Regions from separate parts of the Homo sapiens genome. Here region 2 is linked to region 1. Evidence: promoter capture Hi-C in human tissues and cell types (Jung and others, 2019). All regions are on one chromosome and are shown on one strand. Each heading gives the region's core, a stretch centred on a gene start or on the middle of the fragment in contact. The rest is flanking DNA. Distances are from core to core; before and after follow the strand shown.

Region 1 (6,029 bases), core at 3,530-6,029:
CCATCCCAGCTACAGCCAGGCCTGCTGGAGCCAGCACCCTCTTGTCCACCCCCCCACACCCCTTCCTCTCACCCAAGAGCACACCTGAAACTGTTTTGCCACAGCCATCTTGGGTGGTGACCCCCCTTGTGCCCAAATCAGAGGCTACATCTCAGCCTTTATCTCGGGCCTCCTGCTGGGAGCCCCTGCCCCCTGGCATGCCCTGTGTGGGTCCTCCTGCCTTCCTGCGCACCCGTCCTCGGGTGCCTTCCTGGAGGGCTCATGCAGCTGGCCCTGCCCATGCGTGGGACTCCCACGCCCACCGCAGTGACTCTTAAGTATCTCTGACTGGTTGCATTCAAATGGTCCAGCTTATCTTCCATCCTCCCCTTCATGCATGGCAGCCTCTCATCCAGCTGGTCACTCAGGCCAGAGGCCTGAATGTGGCCTAGAGTCTCCAGGCACTGAGCTCTTCCTGCTGCCCCTGCACCACCCTCTTCAGCTCTGCCCTGTTACTCCCCTTCCTACCTCCTCCAACAGCAAACCCTTGCCCATCCTCTGCGATCTGGCTCCGAGGACTCCTCCACAGTAGTCTCATTGCCTCAGGCCATGGAGGTGGCAGCAATGAGGTTGAGAAGACCTTGCTGAGCCATGCAGGGCAGGGCCGGGCCACGCCCCGTTTCTGGGCCAGGCCCAGCCTGACATCAGGTCCCCAGCTGCCGAGGAGGCTGCTCTTCGCCAACCGCCCTCTGTGCCGCAGGTTCTTTCTGATGTGCTACCTGTTCGTGAACCTCGCCTGTGCGGTGCAGACACTCCTGAGGACCCCCAACTGGCGGCCCCGGTTCAAGTACTATCACTGGTGAGCCATGCCTCTGACACGGGAGACCCTGGGGAGGCCAGGAGCCTCATTCTGGGTGAGGCTTGGGTTTCCTGGGTAGGGAGCTCTTGAAACACTGTGGGGAGGGAGATTATAGGGCTGCGGGGGACTGGACCTAGGTCTTACACCCAGTGACCTGACCACCCACCTGGGACCTCCCACCCGGGACCTGACAGGGCTACCAGGGCATGGGCCAGGCTGTGGCCAGGGGTCCTCCTGGTCCTGCCCTGACTCTGCCCTCCCCTCTCGTCCAGGGCGCTGTCCTTCCTGGGCATGAGTCTCTGCCTGGCCCTTATGTTTGTCTCCTCCTGGTACTATGCCCTGGTGGCCATGCTCATCGCCGGCATGATCTACAAATACATCGAGTACCAAGGGTGAGTGAGCACTGCCACCTGGCCTCTGCCAGCTGAGGGGGCCCGGCCGAGCAGGCAGGGTGGTCTGGCATTGGGGTGGGCAGGGAGCTGGGCCACCGTGGGTGCCAGGACTGGGGACTGTAACTCAGGACCCCTGGGTGGTCTTGAGGGGCAGAACCCCTCCACCTCGCATCCACATAGACAGAACCCCCTGGGCGGCACCAGGGGCTCACCAGCTGTGGTGGAATCTGCAGGGCTGAGAAGGAGTGGGGTGACGGGATCCGAGGCCTGTCCCTGAGCGCTGCCCGCTACGCGCTGTTGCGGCTGGAGGAGGGGCCTCCTCACACCAAGAACTGGCGGTGAGTTCCCGCCAGACCCTGGCCAGGGCGCAGAGGTTCTTAGGGGTCGCTGTCGGGGTCAGAGGGTCGAGAGGTGCCGGCTCCCCATCCTGGGGCTGCCCGGGGCACCCTCCTGGGCCATGCTACCCAAACCTGCAGGGACCACGACCCGAGAAGGGAAGAAGAGGAGGGGCTCCCTAGAACGGCCGGCCCTGGTCTCAGGCTCCCCCCACCCGGCCACTGCAGGCCGCAGCTGCTGGTGCTGCTGAAGCTGGACGAGGACCTCCACGTGAAGTACCCGCGGCTCCTCACCTTCGCCTCCCAGCTCAAGGCTGGCAAGGGCCTGACCATTGTTGGTTCTGTCATCCAGGGGAGCTTCTTGGAGAGCTATGGCGAGGCTCAGGCCGCCGAGCAGGTACTTGCTTTGGGGAGGGAGAGCTGAGCCAGACTACAGGGGTCTGGACTGCAGCTGGCACGGAGGGGAGGGCCCAGTCTTGGCCAGGGTGGCCAGCCAGGCAGCCAGCACTGCTGCCACCTGAGAGCTGGCACAAGGGGGAGCCAGCAGTCCCATCTTGAAAACTTGGCCTCTGGGTAGGCAGCTTGTTGCCCCCAGGCCCTCCTCCACCCAAAAGTCGTTTTGTTCCCGAGGGGCCTTGGGAGGGAGCCCAGAGGCAGGAAGCTGATGGCCTCCCATTGGCCCTGGGTGTGTTCCCCACAGACCATCAAGAACATGATGGAAATTGAGAAGGTGAAGGGCTTCTGCCAGGTGGTGGTGGCCAGCAAGGTGCGGGAGGGGCTGGCCCACCTCATCCAGTCCTGTGGCCTGGGAGGCATGCGGCATAACTCCGTGGTGCTGGGCTGGCCCTACGGCTGGCGACAGAGCGAGGACCCCCGTGCCTGGAAGACCTTCATTGGTGTGTGAAGGCCTGGGGCCTGGTGGGCAGGGGTGAAGTGAGGTGGCAGTGGGCGGAGGGCCACAGACTGGTGGTCAGCCGTGCTCCTCCTCCCCAGACACCGTGCGCTGCACTACGGCTGCCCACCTGGCCCTGCTCGTGCCCAAGAACATCGCCTTCTACCCCAGCAACCACGAGCGCTACCTGGAGGGCCACATAGACGTGTGGTGGATCGTGCACGATGGTGGCATGCTCATGCTTCTGCCCTTCCTGCTGCGCCAGCATAAGGTAGACCAGGGGGTGGGTGCAGATGAGAGGGGCTAGGCCCTTGGAGGAGCAGCTGTGACCAAACCGCCCACCTGGTCCCTTGCCTCAGGTCTGGAGGAAGTGCCGGATGCGCATCTTCACAGTGGCCCAGATGGATGACAACAGCATCCAGATGAAGAAGGACCTGGCTGTCTTTCTGTACCATCTGCGCCTTGAGGCCGAGGTGGAGGTGGTGGAGATGGTGAGCCCTCTGCCCTGCCCTGGCCCCGTGGATACCATGTCCCGTGCAGCTGGGTCCTCACGGCCAACCCTGTCCCCAGCATAACAGTGACATCTCTGCATACACCTACGAGCGGACGCTGATGATGGAGCAGCGGTCGCAGATGCTGCGGCAGATGAGACTGACCAAGACTGAGCGGGAGCGAGAAGTCAGTGCCCTTTGTGGTTCACGCCAGGGCGGGTGGCAGGGTCAGGCCTTTGGAGACCGCATCGGTGGGTGCGGAGGAATCAGAATGACTCACCGCAGCCCTACCCAAGCTAGTGCTCATTTCCCGGAGGCAAGGTGGTCACATTGGGCCAGACAGGCCCCATCCCCCTTTTCCTATGGGACCAAGGCTATCTCCTGCAATTGTCCTCAGGCCCAGCTGGTCAAGGATCGGCACTCGGCCCTGCGGCTGGAGAGCCTGTACTCGGACGAGGAAGATGAGTCTGCAGTGGGGGCTGACAAGATCCAGATGACGTGGACCAGGGACAAGTACATGACTGAGACCTGGGACCCCAGCCATGCCCCTGACAATTTCCGGGAGCTGGTGCACATTAAGCCGTGAGTGCAGCAAAAACAGCCCCAGCGGCACTGGAATCTAGGGGTGGAGGTGGGGTGGGGCAGACAAGTAGTGTTAGATGGGCCAGGGGTGGGGACCCTCCTTGCAGGATGGCTCATGGCGACCTGTGACTGGCTACACTACGTGTAGGGACCAATCCAATGTGCGGCGCATGCACACTGCTGTGAAGCTCAATGAAGTCATTGTCACGCGCTCCCACGACGCCCGCCTGGTTCTCCTAAACATGCCTGGCCCACCCAGGAACAGTGAGGGCGACGAGAACTGTATCCCTTTGTGGAGAGGCAGGCAGTTGGGAGGTGGATAGCATGGGAGGTCAAGCCAGCGGCTTCTCTCCTGGGCACCCCTGGGTGGGCATGGCCCAGGTGGCCCGGGTTGCCCGTTGATTCTGTTGTTGCCTCCTTGACTTGAGGCCCTGCAGACATGGAGTTCCTCGAGGTGCTGACCGAGGGCCTTGAGCGGGTGCTGTTGGTGCGCGGTGGTGGCCGTGAAGTCATCACCATCTACTCCTGAGCCCAGTGTCATCTTGTGGCCTGGAGTCGAGGTCTTGGCCAGGACATAACAAGCTGTGGTCTGGGGTAACAGCCTCTTCCCAGCACCCACCTGCCAGCCCTGCTTGCCTGGCCCTGTCCTGGACCCAGCTTTGCTAGGTCTCCTTGGAAACCAGGCCTGGGCCTCAAAATGGAGATGGATCCCAGGTCTTGTGGGACCCTGGGATGTTTGGGGACTTTACTATCTAGCACCCCAGTAGGCCTGTCCTGGCCAGAGAAGACTGGTAGGGGCCGAGTGGGGTTTGAAGGCAGCCGGCCCGGCCCAGCCCAGGAGCGCTATTTATTGCATATTTATTGTTTGGATGTCACCATCAGAGACGAAGGGAAGGGTAGCCAGGGAGGGAGTCCAGCCCAGCTGCCTGCAGGAAGATCTGGCTCAGTCTACTATGGGCAGGGCCCCCCACCAAGCTGAGCCGAATGGAGACAGCTGAGCTGAGGCCTGACTTTTTCAATAAAACATTGTGTAGTTCTGGGCCTCCTGCTGCCCCGGCTCTGTTTCCCCTGGCGCCAAGAGAAGAAGGCGGAACTGAACCCAGGCCCAGAGCCGGCTCCCTGAGGCTGTGCCCCTTTCCGGCAATCTCTGGCCACAACCCCCACTGGCCAGGCCGTCCCTCCCACTGGCCCTAGGGCCCCTCCCACTCCCACACCAGATAAGGACAGCCCAGTGCCGCTTTCTCTGGCAGTAGGCACCAGGGCTGGAATGGGGCCGCCCGGCTCCCCATGGCAGTGGGTGACGCTGCTGCTGGGGCTGCTGCTCCCTCCTGCCGCCCCCTTCTGGCTCCTCAATGTGCTCTTCCCCCCGCACACCACGCCCAAGGCTGAGCTCAGTAACCACACACGGCCCGTCATCCTCGGTAAGCCCCCACCAGGCCCCTGATGCACCACGCCAGACCCTGGGGAGCCTGGGCCCCAGCCCCTGGCAGCTGACCTGGCCAAAGCCCTTCTGCCCTGCATAAGCCCCGACATAAGTACCTGCCCTGGTGTGGGGAGGGGCCAAAAGCTTGTCCCTTAGAGGAATGACGTCCCTTCTCCCACCACACTGTGACTCTCAGTTGTCTAACCCAGGGGGGGCGGAGTGGGGGACGGGGTGTGCCTGAGGTCTTGGCTGGGGCATCACAAGCTGTGGTCAGTCACAGCCACACCAGACTCTGGGCCAAGCCCCACCACTCCTTCCTTGGCCCCCACCCACCAAGGACAAGATGCCCAGCCCAGGATCGGTGAGCAGGAGAGGCCCATCCATGCCCGGCCCCTATTAGGCCCAGCCCCCATGCCCCCAGACCTATCTGTTCCCACCTTGGACTTTGGCAATAAAGGAGCGCCAGACTGGGTGTTTGCTCTGCAGAGGCAGGGGTCAGCGGCCTTGGCCTCAGCACCTCAGCGCCTTCCCTTCCTCAGGGAAGCCTGGGCTTTGGCTACTGGGGGGACAGCAGGGAGAGGGGGTGTAAGCAGGGGAGGGTAAGTGTGCTTTGTACCTGGGGGTTGAGGGTATGGGAGGTGGGGGGTGGGTCTGGTCACTGCAGCATCTGGGGTGACGGGGGTAAGGGTCACGGGGGGAATCCAGAGTCCAGAGTGAGGGCTGCTGCTCACAGTGCCCGGCTGCCTGGGGAATCAGCTAGAAGCCAAGCTGGACAAACCAGATGTGGTGAACTGGATGTGCTACCGCAAGACAGAGGACTTCTTCACCATCTGGCTGGATCTCAACATGTTCCTACCCCTTGGGGTAGACTGCTGGATCGATAACACCAGGTACAGCCATGTGCTCCACCCTAGCCCCAACACGCTGCCCCTTGGCTACTGGCTGCTGAGTGGCACCCCCGCCCCGCAGGGTTGTCTACAACCGGAGCTCTGGGCTCGTGTCCAACGCCCCTGGTGTCCAGATCCGCGTCCCTGGCTTTGGCAAGACCTACTCTGTGGAGTACCTGGACAGCAGCA
Region 2 (6,029 bases), core at 1,938-4,437, 350 kb after region 1:
ATGAAGGTACAATCAGTTGACAGAAGCTGGTGACTGACTAAATCCAGGAATGAAGGAGAAAGAGTAAAAAAGAAACAGAACAAGCCAGACATGGTGGTTTGTACCTATAGTTCCAGCTACTTGAGAAGCTGAAGCAGGAGGATGGCTTGGGCCCAGAAGTTTGAGGTGAGTCAAAGGAAGGGTGGGGGAGGGTGGTAGGAAGAGACAGAACAGCTTTGCAGGCTGGCCAGTCTTGTTCTATCCAGAATATTGACGCCACATTAAACCTTCCTGAAATGAGGCTCAAAAATTCCAAAAATTCATGATTGGTGATGCTGACTGAATCAGGTCCAAATTCTCCATCTTAGCTCCCAGAGCTCTGTACAGTTTGTTCCCATTCCCTTCCACCCACCCAACCTCACCTTTGACTATTTCCTGCTGGGCATCTTCTATATCAGTATCTGATGTCTTGTCCCTTCCCAGCTCAAGTCACCTTCTAAATCAAAGTCATCTCAACCTTGACCAGTACAAACTGACCACAAGTTTTAACTGTAGCATAATGTTCTATGTGTTTTTCCCCCAGTATTAGCTTTTTAAGGGCAGTAACTATGCCTTTTGTTTCTGTAGTCTCTACAGCAATGGATACAAAACAGTGTTAGACAAACAGGAATTCTCACTGACTTTGTCAGATGAAACAGGTATAGATGGTTCCTGCACAGGACAAGAGCAGGAAGGGAACATGGAAAAACAAAACACTGTTTATATGCTAAGTGAAAGCCTAAGTATACGAATTTACCTTTATTGCTCTCTTTGCATCACTATTTTTTTAGTGATGCGAAGTTTTTTTACGCATCACTATTTTTTTAGTGATGCAAAGTTTAGAAACTTTGAAAGACAAAGTTTCATTATGTTGCCCAGGCTGTTCTCGAACCCCTGGGCTCAAGGGATCCTCCCACTTCATCCCCCACAAAATGCTGAGAATATAGGCATGAGCCACTGCAACTAGCCTGTGTCAATTCTTACACCTTTTTTTTTTTTTTTTGAGACAGGGTCCCACCCTGTCGCTCAGGCTGGAGTGCAGTGGCACAATCAAGGCTCACTACAGCCTTGACATCCTGGGTTCAAGTGATCCTCCTACCTCAGCCTCCCAAGTAGCTGGGACTACAAGCATGTGCCACCATACTTGGTTCATTTTATTTTACAGAGATGGGATCTCACTGTATTGCCTAGGCTGGTCTCCTAAGCTCAAGTGGCCTCCCAAAGTGCTGGGATTACAGGCATAAACCACCATGCTCAGCCTGTGTCACTTCTTAATAGAGAAAAATAAAAATTCCCAAAAACACAATTACAGGTTAGATTTTTTAAAATCCTGCCATGTAAAAATGGAAGCTAATTGTGAATACACTAATTTTTGAAGATATTAAGGTTTAGTAATTTATCACCTATGATTATGACTACATAGCAAATATGTCAGACAATTTCCAAAGGAAAACAACCAAAACAACCTTTTATACTCACCACTGCAGAGTTTAGTCAGTTAAGTAGACTGGTTATTATACTAGGAATAATCCATGTGTACTGAGAATAAGACAGTAGAAGAGAATGATTTCCAGCAGTCTATTTTATAACTAAACCCACAACTTTTTAATATACTGCTTACTATCCATTATAAGGGGCAACTGATTGCTAAAAACCCCAACTTATTTCCTGGGGAGATCAGAAGTCTATCTGCATTCTCTTGGTAAGAAATACATTAGCAGCTCTAAGACCCCATGAACTTTCACAAGCCACAGAAATTCTGAAAGTCAACATGAAGGGTACCTAACAAATGGCCTAACAGAGGTTGATACGAACCCTCAGACATCATAAGAAGGCAGAGAACGCACAGCCATAAAAAAGAATGAAATAATGTCCTTTACAGCAACACAGATGCAGCTGGAGGTCATTATCCTAAGCGAATTAAGGCAGGAACAGAAAACCAAGTATCTCATGTTCTCACTTACAAGTGGAAGCTACACACTGGGTACACATGGACATAAACATAACAATAGGCCTTAGGGATTAGGAGGGGGAGGGAGAAAACGGGGTAAGGGCTGCAAAACTAATCATTGGGTACTATGCTCATTACCTGGGTGATGAGCAACAATTGTACCCCCAAACCTCATAATCACACAATATACCCATGTACACAAAAAAACTTGGACATGTACCCCCGAATCTAAAATAAAAGTTGAAATTGTAAAAAATTTTAAGAGAACAGAAGATACCTTGCACCTTTCTCTTTATATGTATAAAATATATATTAAAAACCATATATTAAAATATAAAAAAGATATACAAATATATAAATATAAAATATATATTAAACATTTATACATATATATATAAATTTTTTTTTTCCAGATGGAGTTTCACTCTGTCACCCAGGCTGGAATGCAGTGGCGCGATCTCGGCTCACTGCAACCCCTGCCTCCAGGTTCAACCGATTCTCCTGCCTCAGCCTCCTAAGTAGCTGGGACTACAGGCACATGCCACTGTGCCCCGCTAATTTTTGTATTTTTAGTAGAGACGGGGTTTCACCATGTTGGCCAGGCTGGTCTCAAACTCCTGAGCTCAAGTGATCCACCCACCTCGGCCTCCCAAAGTGCTGAGATTACTGACGTTGAGCCAGTCACCAACGCCTGGCCTCTGTAAGTATCTTTTTTTGATGTTGTTGTTTTTGAGACGGAGTCTCACTCTGTCACCCAGGCTGCAGTGCAGTGGCACGATCTTGGCTCACTGCGACTTCCGCCTCCTGGGCTCAAATAATTCTAATGTCTCAGCCTCCCGAGTGGCTGGGACTACAGGCGCATGCCACCATGCCGGCTAATTTTTATATTTTTAGTAGAGACAGGGTTTCACCATACTGGTCAGGATGGTCTCAAACTTCTGAGCTCTGGTGATCCTCCCACCTCAGCCTCCTAAATTACTGGGATTACAGGCATGAGCCACTGTGCCTGGCCTTATTTATTTTTTTAGACAGATTCTTGCTCTGCCACCCAGGCTGGAGCGCAGTGGCACAATCCCGGCCACTGCAACCTCTGCCTCCAGGGTTCAAGCAATTCTCCTGCCTCAGCCTCCTGAGCAGCTGGGATCACAGGCGTACACCACTATGCCCAGCAAATTTTTGTATTTTTAGTAGAGACAGGGTTTCACTATGTTGGCCAGGCTGGTCTCAAACTCCTGACCTCAGGTGATGTGCCCGCCTCATCCTCCCAAAGTGCTGGGTTTACAGGTGTGAGCCACTGCGTCCAGTCGATAGATCTTTACATTAGAAAAATGTTGACTGAAAAGCTTAGTCTGGTATTCTCACTATACAGAATGTTAAATGACATTAGGACAAGGAGGGGAAAAAAAGCAATTATAAGTCATCAGGTCGGGCACAGTGGCTCACACATATAATCCCAGTACTTGGGGAGGCAGAGCCAAGAGAATCGTTTGAGCCCAGGAGTTCAAGACCAGCCTGAGCAACATAGTGAGACCTTGTCTCCATTAAAAATTAAAAAAAAAATTAGCTAGGTATGATGGCATCCATCTGTAGTCCCAGCTACTCGGGACTGAGGCGGGAGGATCGCCTGAGCCCAGGCTGCAGTAAGCTATCATCACACCACTGCATTCCAGTCTGAGTGACAGCGCAAGACTCTGTGCCCTTACTGCCCCCCCCCAAAAAAAGTAATCAGTTTTTCCTGAGGATGAAAGGAAAAGCTAAGTAACTTTTACTAGATGCAGGACACTAGCCAAAACGAATAAAAGTTATTAACTCTTTTAGAGTAAAAGCTAGGTTTAAAAGTTAAACAAAATAACCATTTTACTCTGCTATTCCTGAAAACATATACGCCATCATCTTATCTGAGAGCTTAAAATACATCAAAGCAAAGTATCAGTGAACTAGTACCAGGAAAGTTGTAGACTACAATAAAGAATGAGGAGGAGTTGAATTGGGAGAATAACTTGGGCTGAGAAGCAGAAAAATAATAGTGACCATTTCTTTCACAGTGACTGGGAACGGAAGCAGCCTTTATCTGAAAAAGCACTCATCTATTTAATCACAACTGTACCTCTCACTTCTCTGACATTAATTTTCATTTATTTTTTGAGACAGAGTCTCGCTCTGTCACCCAGGCTGGAGTGCAGTGGTGAGATCTTGGCTCACTGCAATCTCTGCCTCCTGTGTTCAAGCAATTCTCAGCCTCAGCCTCCTGAGTAGCTGGGATTACAGGCACGCATCACCACGACTAGCTAATTTTTGTATTTTTCGTAGAGATGGGGTTTCATCATGTTGGCTAGGCTAGTCTCAAACTCCTGACCTCAAGTGATCTGCCCGCCTCGGCCTCCCAAAGTGCTGGGATTACGGTGGCTCACGCCTGTAATCACAGCATTTGTGTGAGCCACCCAGTCCAGCATTTTTTTTTTTTTTTTTTTTTTTGAGACAGAGTCTCACTCTGTCATCCAGGCTGGAGTGCAATGGTGCCATCTCAGCTTACTGCAACCTCCACCTCCCGGGTTCAAGCGATTCTCCCGCCTCAGCCTCCCAAGTAGCTGGGATTGATTACAGGCACCAAACATCATGTCCGGCTAATATTTGTATTTTTAGTAGAGACAGGGTTTCGCCATGTTGGCCACGCTGGGCTTGAGCTTCTGACCTCAGCTGATCCACCCTCCTCAGCCTCCCAAAGTGCTAGGATTACAGGTGTGAGCCATCACACCTGGCCGATCACCGTGCTCGGCCAATTTTTAAAAGAACAGTTAGGGCCGGGCACGGTGGCTCACGCCTGTAATCCCAGCACTTTGGGAGGCCGAGGTGGGCAGATCACAAGGTCAGGAGATCGAGACCATCCTGGCTAACACAGTGAAACCCTGTCTCTACTAAAAAAATAAAAATAAAAAATTATAAAATAACAGGGCTTTTTGTATGTGTGTGTGTAGAAATAATTAAAAGGGAAATGAAAATGTTTCTTCTAAGTTAAAAAAAAAGTTAAGAGCATTCTAGTATTTTGTTAACAATCTCCCCTCCCATTTGTTAATATTAAAGGGTATGGTCAAAACAAAACAATTATTCTAACAGCTACTTGAAGAAAGCCCACTGAAGCTTTGAATCTAGGAAATACGTACTAATAAAATATTTGTAATGGCAACAGTGAAACTAGTATGGGAGGAGGGGAAGGAGTTCTTTTGCTACAAAGAATAATAAAGGCTAGACAATAATTCTTTCGCCAAAAGGTGGCTGACGCTGCTGTAGAAAGGAACTCTCTTCTTTAAAAAAAAAAAAAAAAGTTCTAACTGTTCTTTTTCTTTTTTTGAGACGGAGTTTCGCTCTTGTTGACCAGTCTGGAGTGCAATGGCGCCATCTTGGCTCACTGCAACGGCCGCCTCCTGCGTTCAAGTGATTCTCCTGTCTCAGCCTCCTGAGTAGCTGGGACTACAAATGCCCACCATCATGCCAGGCTAATTTTTGTATTTTTAGTAGAGATAGGGTTTCACCATGTTGGCCAAGCTGGTCTCAAACTCCTGACCTTAGGTGATCCAGCCATCTTGGTCTCCCCAAATGCCGGTATTACAGGTGTGAGCCACCGCGTCCAGGCTCTTTTTCAAGTTAATGGAAGAAATCGGGTATTAGGTGTTGAAGCGTCATTTGGGGCTGGAGGCAGGGAAGGGAGAGAGAGTACAAGCATATGTACTAGGGGTAGTCTTCAATCAGTACTGTGCTAAAGCTGACTCCCAGATAAGCTTTGTCTTCTGCACGAGGTTCAGTTCTTAGGGAGCTCCTTGTCTGGCAGGCAGAAAGAAAAACAAATAGCAGCTATATAGTGTGATGAGTACTGTAACAACGGTTAACATACTTCCTACCACCCTGGCATAAAGGATGACTTCAGTGGGTGAAGGGCTTTAAGGAAAGGAATTGCTACAGCTGGATATCAAATGATGAGGTGGACCTTGCCTGACAAACTACAGAACAGGTGAACGGTATATAACAAAAATATGTATGGAATTAGACCAATTTTGTGCAGAAG

The links. The method cuts DNA at HindIII sites, captures the fragments that hold promoters and counts their contacts. A contact is called where the count stands out against the background at its distance.
Region 2: a fragment that was not itself captured here is called in contact with the fragment with the promoter of LCAT in region 1 in 1 of the 25 tissues and cell types used here (dorsolateral prefrontal cortex).

The regions. Positions count from the first base shown.
Region 1 is chr16:67,942,870-67,948,898 of GRCh38, reverse strand. It overlaps LCAT (lecithin-cholesterol acyltransferase), which reads left to right and starts at 4,779. Exons shown (of 6, transcript NM_000229.2): 1 at 4,779-4,951; 2 at 5,687-5,843; 3 at 5,923-6,029. The coding sequence starts at 4,798. SLC12A4 (solute carrier family 12 member 4) reads left to right here. Exons shown (of 24, transcript NM_005072.5): 14 at 740-838; 15 at 1,111-1,230; 16 at 1,464-1,568; 17 at 1,794-1,962; 18 at 2,266-2,461; 19 at 2,559-2,728; 20 at 2,817-2,948; 21 at 3,028-3,135; 22 at 3,346-3,530; 23 at 3,679-3,812; 24 at 3,968-5,425. The coding sequence ends at 4,059. RefSeq lists an enhancer at 5,648-6,029. The HindIII fragment of the contact is 35,269 bases long and covers 1-6,029 here.
Region 2 is chr16:67,589,376-67,595,404 of GRCh38, reverse strand. All of the region lies in intron 2 of CTCF (CCCTC-binding factor), which reads right to left. Among named protein-coding and RNA genes, the nearest start is that of CTCF, 30 kb to the right of the region's middle. The HindIII fragment of the contact is 6,285 bases long and covers 45-6,029 here.